Linked DNA regions of Homo sapiens: region 1 is linked to region 2. The links are contacts of gene promoters, found by promoter capture Hi-C in blood cells and fetal thymus (Javierre and others, 2016). All regions are on one chromosome and are shown on one strand. The core of a region is centred on a gene start or on the middle of the fragment in contact, and the rest is flanking DNA. Distances in the headings are between cores, read along the strand shown. Region 1 has its middle 6.5 kb from the start of TMT1B. Region 2 holds the start of SMARCC2 (SWI/SNF related BAF chromatin remodeling complex subunit C2).

Region 1 (2,848 bases), core at 181-2,680, 510 kb after region 2:
ATTTCATGTAATTGGAATCATACTACATGTGGCCTATGTGACTGGCTTTTCACACAGCATAATGCTTCCAAAGTTTACACATGTTGTAGCATGTATCAATACTTCATTCCTTTTACGTCCAAGTAGCATTGCATTGTACAGATATGCCACATTTTGTTTATTTATTCAACAGTTGATAGACATTTGGGTTGTTTCCACTTTTGGGGTACTATAAACAATGCTGCTATGAATTCTTGTCTTCATTTTATCTTTCTTTCTCCTAAATCATTAATCTCTGCCTTTCCATGGATCTTTCAAAATATGAATATGCTCTAATATATTTCAGGTTAATAATAAACTGACCCTCTTGACACCACATGTCACTTTAGCTAAAACTCCATTTTACAAATCTATGTCAAAGTCTTTTTTTTTTGGCAGGATCTTGCTCTGTTGCCTAGGCTGGAGTGCACCATTCTGACTCACTGCAGCCTCAAACTCCTGGGGTTGTGCTGCCCTTCCTGCTTCAGCCTCTTGAGTAGCTAGGACTATAGGTGCATACCACCATGCCTACTAACTTTTAAAAATTTTTGTAGAGACAGGGTATCTCTCAGGGTTGCCCAGGCTGATCTTGAACTCCTGGCCTCAAGCCATCCTCCTGTCTTGGTCTCCCAAAGTGCTGGGATTACAGGCGTGAGCTACTGTGCCAAGCCCAAGAAATTTTTATTAGTGATGGATTGGAGTGGGAGAAAGAGTGAATGGAAGGTGAGGAAACCAAGATAACACGAGCAGATGACTCAAGAATTATGACTTTGGGCGGGCGTGGTGGCTCGTGCCTGTAATCCAAGTACTTTGGGAGGCCGAGAGGAAATGACTGCTTGAGCCCAGGAGTTTGAGACCAGCTTGGGCAACATAGGCTGTTGTTTTTCTCTACAAAAAATAAAAAAATTAGCCAATTAGCCGGGTGTGGTGGCATGCGCCTGTAGCCCCAGCTACTTAGGAGGCAGAGGCAAGGGGATTGCTTGAGCCTGCAAGTTCAGGGTTACAGTGAACCATGACTGGGTCAGTGTACTCCAGCCTGGGAGACAGAGAGAGACCCTGTCTCTAAAAACAAAACAAAACAAAACAAAGAAACCCGAAACTATTATTATCAAGCCTATTAATTATTTCCACATGCCAGGTCCAGTGAATATTCCCTGTTCTCATCTTATCTGACTTTTCAACAGCTTCAGAAATAGTTGGCTACTATTTCTTCTTGAAAAATTCTCTCATCTAGGCTGTCCTAACATAACAGTCTTCTTGTTTCTATAACATTCCCGTGGCTGTTACTTCTTAGAAACTTCTTTTTTTAGATCTTTCTCATCTACTCGACCTTTAAATTTTGTTTCTTTGGGTTTAGTCTTGGGTCTTTCTCTGTCTAAATTCTCTCATTAAATAACCTCATCTTTTTTTTTTTAATATAGACTTTATTTTTTAGAGCAGTTTTAGCTTCATAGAAAAGTTGAGGAAAGTACAGAGATTTTCCACATACCCTTTGTCCTCACACATGACTAGCCTTCCTCATTATCAGTATCCCCCACCAGAGTGGACATTTATTACAATTGATGAACCTACATTGACACATAATTTTCACCAAATCCCATCCATTTTCATGGTTTAAAATGCCATGTATATGCAAATTATTCACACATTTATATCTTTAGTGCAGATCCTTCCTTTGAGTTTCAAATTTGTATACCCAGTTGTGTACTTGATCCTCCTCCTCAGCATATCTTCTGGACATATAAAACTTAACATGTCCAAAATGACACTTACGGTACTCCCCAAGTCTCTTGTCTTACTCTGCCCATCTTCTTCATCATCTCAGTGAATGGCACCATTAGCTTCTTGATTGCTCAACCAAAAACCTAGGATTTATTCTATTTCTTCTCTGTCTCCTCCTTTTCTTTTCTCATTTCTAACTTTGTATAATGGAGAATTTTGAATATACACAAAAGTTGGCAGAACAGTATAAGATACCCCCATGTATACATCATTCATCCCAACAACTATCAACCCACAGCCAATCCTTCCCCATCCACATCCTTTTCTACTTTCTGCTTCCTTCTCCTGTGTGTCATTTTGAAGCAAATCCCAAACATCATGTCATTTCATCTCCATCTGTATCTCTCTATAACATATATATGACTTTCTTTTCTTTTCTTTTTTTTTGAGGCAGAGTCCCGCTCTTTTGCTAGGCTGGAGTGCAGTGGGGCGATCTCGGCTCACTGCAACCTCCGCCTCCTGGGTTCAAGCAATTCTCCTGCCTCAGCCTCCTGAGTAGCTGGGACTACAGGCACGCACCACCACACCCAGCTAATTTTTGTATTTTTAGTAGAGACAGGGTTTCACCATGTTGACCAGGATGGTCTCGATCTCTTGACCTCGTGATCTGCCTGCCTTGGCCTCCAAAAGTGCTGGGATTACAGGTGTGAGCCACCGCGCCCGGCCAATATATATATAACTTTCAAGTTACTCACAAGTCCTGTCAGCTCTATTTCCCAGTTCATTAATTTCATGCATTTCTTTCATCTCCACTGGCATAACCCTAGACCAGATCATGACCCTCCGCTGCCTGGCCCACTGCAAGGGCCTCATTAACTGTCTCTCCACTTTCACCCACTGCTTAAAACCTTTTAGTGGATTCCCATTATCTTTGGTACAAAATCTGAACTCCTTACTGTAGCCCATAAGGCCCTGTGTGATCTGGCCCCTGTCCACCTCTCATGCTACCCTCCCTTAACCCTGTGTTTTAGCTATACAATCTTCTTTCAGTTCCTCATACTCTCACTCCTTTTAGCTTCAGTGCTGTTGAGCTTGTCTTCCTCTTCCT
Region 2 (2,845 bases), core at 35-2,534:
CTGTGAAAGGGGTTAAAAAAGTCGACGCCTGTAATCCCAGCATTTTGGGAGGCCGAGGCGGGCAGATAACCTGAGGTCAGGAGTTTGAGACCAGCCTGGCCAATATGGTGAACCTGTCTCTACTAAAAATACAAAAATTAGCCAGGTATGGTGACGCATGCCTGTGGTCCCAGCTACTCGGGAAGCTAAGGCAGGAGAATTGCTTGAACCCGGGAAGCGGAGGTTGCGGTGAGCCGAGATCGCGCCACTGCACTCCAGCCTGAGCAACAGAGCGAGACTCCCTTTTAATAATAAGAAGAAGAAAGAAAAAAAAAAAAAACCCGTCACGAACAGGATTCGAACCTGTGCGGGGAAACCCCATTGGATTTCGAGTCCAACGCCTTAACCACTCGGCCACCGTGACTTCCAAAACCGCGCTTTATCGCGCGCTTACAGAAGGGGTCCGCACTGCAATCCGGGAATGCGTGCGGGAACCGGAAGCAGGGTACCGGCCCCGACACACACACACCTGAGGACTCCCCACCCCTCGGTTCCTTACCTCCTATCTACGCCACCCAAAGAAAAAGAGTCGGATGGACTGGGTGACCCAGGGAGGGAGGGTCTCCTGCCTAGCGAAGAGTCGGGGTCTCGAGTAGGAGCTCACACCTACTTAGGAGGCGACAGCGAGGCCTGCGGAGGAAGCAGTTGAGGGAAGGCACTGGGCCGCCAGGGTGGCGACTAGGGGACATTTGGGTTAACAAGTGAGGGGAGTGCTGGGTGGACAAGGCGCGAGGAGTGAGGGAGACTCTGAAAAGTTTAAATGGGGAGCTGCTGTGAATGGATGGAAGGAAGGAACTTCTTGGGGAAAGGGGTTTGGGGTTTTGGGGGACGAGGGGCTTCGTCGGGTTAGGAATGCGCAAGGTGAGGACCACTCGGGTCTACGGGTTGGGGCTGCTCCAGCGACTGGCGGCCGCCTGGAGTGGGATAGCGAGGTGACACTCCCGAGCTGAGGCAAAAAGAGGGAAAGGGCTTCGCGTCTGGTAAGAGCGATCTCAGGAGAATGGCGCCCCCTCCAGGAAGCGTCCTTCTCCCCGGAGGCTCCCGCCTCCGCTGCCGGGGAGGCCGCCAGGGTCGGCCCGCGCCTGGAGCTCCGCCGCCGCGCCCGGCCTGCCGGCAGGGGGCGCAGCGCGGACCGGGGCCGGCCCAGGCGGCGGGAGGCGGCGGCCGCGGCGGCGGGAGGCGGCGGGAGGCGGGCGGAGGAGGAGGCGGAGGAGGCGGGAGCTGAGCTGAGTGGGGCGGGCGGCGGCGGGGCCCGAGCCGGAGAAGATGGCGGTGCGGAAGAAGGACGGCGGCCCCAACGTGAAGTACTACGAGGCCGCGGACACCGTGACCCAGTTCGACAACGTGCGGCTGTGGCTCGGCAAGAACTACAAGAAGGTACGCGGGCCGGGCCGGGCCGCGCGGGGACCGGGGGCGGGACAAAGGGACCGCGGCCCTGCAGCCCCGGGATCCTGCCTACCCTCCAGGCGCCCCAGCCCCTCCCCCGCGGCCTCCCAAGCAGCCCCCCGCGCGCCCTCCTGCGCTCCCGCGCCCCTCCCCCAGCCTCCCTCTCCCCGCACCCCCAGCCTCTGAGCCCAGCCCCCGCCCCCACTGCTGCGCCCTCTGCCCCTTGTTTTTCTCTACTGCCCGGCGGGCCCCGGTGCCATTAGCCCACCTTCCCCTCAGCCATCGCCCTCCTGGCTTTTCTGGGAGAGGCGGCCGGCCGGGTGTGGACCGGGTGCCCAATGGGCTCCCCCGCAACCCGGAGCGTGCCCGCCAGAGCTCCCCACGGAGCCAGGTACCAGCGGGGCTGAGGCCTCTCCGGTGCTTTGTGTATGTTCAGAGAGAGAGAATGGAAAGCAGGAGGGTAAACAGTCACAGAGCAAGCCGTTGGCTGCTCATCAGCCTGAAAAAGGTCTCCACCCAGGGATCACCTGTCTCCGCCGCTCATCCCCCACCTTCATCTAAGGGGCAACAGAATCTCTCAGGGAGCCGGGGTATAGGAGTTCCTGGGTAGCGGCCCCTTCCGAAACCTTTCCTCGATTTTACAATGAAGTCACCTTGCAACCTAGCTTTGCAGTACCCTGGGTTTGGGGTCGAGAGGTTAGGGTGAGCTTCCTATCTCTAGCCCCTCACACCCAAACCCCATAACTGGAGATCATAAGGTGGTGAACAAAAGGTTCAAGAATCCTTACCTGTCTTTTCTACCAAACCTCTTCCTGGTGTCGTCTTTGTCTCTAGGCCTGGTTTTCTCTGGAAATGGTCTGCCTCTCTTTTTCTCACTACCCTCAGAGAGGGATTCTCTTTATGGCTTTCTTTCAGCTCCCCAGTTCTTCCTGCCGGCTTTGCAGCTCGTCAGAAGTGTGCTTAGTGGCTTAGGAGAACTTCCTACTGATGCTGGTTGTGAGCCTGGCCCTGCCCTTGGGGTCTCTCTGGGTGTGAGAATCCTGACAAATAGCTGCTATTTCTATGGCATGTCTCTACGCCTGTGAGAGGCTCTTATTCCCAGGCTTCTACCTTTGACCTTTTGCAGGGAGATCAGGCTAGGGGCTTAGCCTCCGGCCTTGGGGGAATTGACAGTTGTGACCTGGTTCAGCTTCCATGCTCTTAGCTCTTTGTCATTTACCTTTCCCTTCACAGATCTATCTCTTTTCACCTCTCACTGAGAGGCACTGTCTTCTTTGTGATGAGTGGGGAGAAAACGGGTCAAAAAGTAAAAAGAAAGTCTCCTGGCTCAGGTTCAAATTAGAATGGAAGGCTAGGATGCTACTAGGTAGCAGAGTGTGGAAACATAGAAGTAGGGCCAGGGTTACTTGTCTCAGATACA

The links. Contacts are between HindIII fragments. The CHiCAGO score rates a contact against its expected background, and 5 or more counts as called.
Region 1: a contact is called between a fragment that was not itself captured here and the fragment with the promoter of SMARCC2 in region 2, in 1 of 17 cell types (M2 macrophages). The highest score is 7.7, in M2 macrophages.

Annotation. Positions count from the first base shown.
Region 1 is chr12:55,673,801-55,676,648 of GRCh38, reverse strand. No RefSeq gene overlaps it. Among named protein-coding and RNA genes, the nearest start is that of TMT1B, 6.5 kb to the left of the region's middle. The HindIII fragment of the contact is 3,457 bases long and covers 1-2,848 here.
Region 2 is chr12:56,187,922-56,190,766 of GRCh38, reverse strand. It overlaps SMARCC2 (SWI/SNF related BAF chromatin remodeling complex subunit C2), which reads left to right and starts at 1,284. Exons shown (of 29, transcript NM_001330288.2): 1 at 1,284-1,416. The coding sequence starts at 1,306. It overlaps TRS-CGA4-1 (tRNA-Ser (anticodon CGA) 4-1), which reads right to left and starts at 403; the gene lies at 322-403. It overlaps LOC107984468 (a long non-coding RNA gene), which reads right to left and starts at 75. Exons shown (of 2, transcript XR_007063330.1): 1 at 1-75. RefSeq lists an enhancer at 638-737 and silencers at 978-1,257, 1,328-1,547. The HindIII fragment of the contact is 5,408 bases long and covers 1-2,845 here.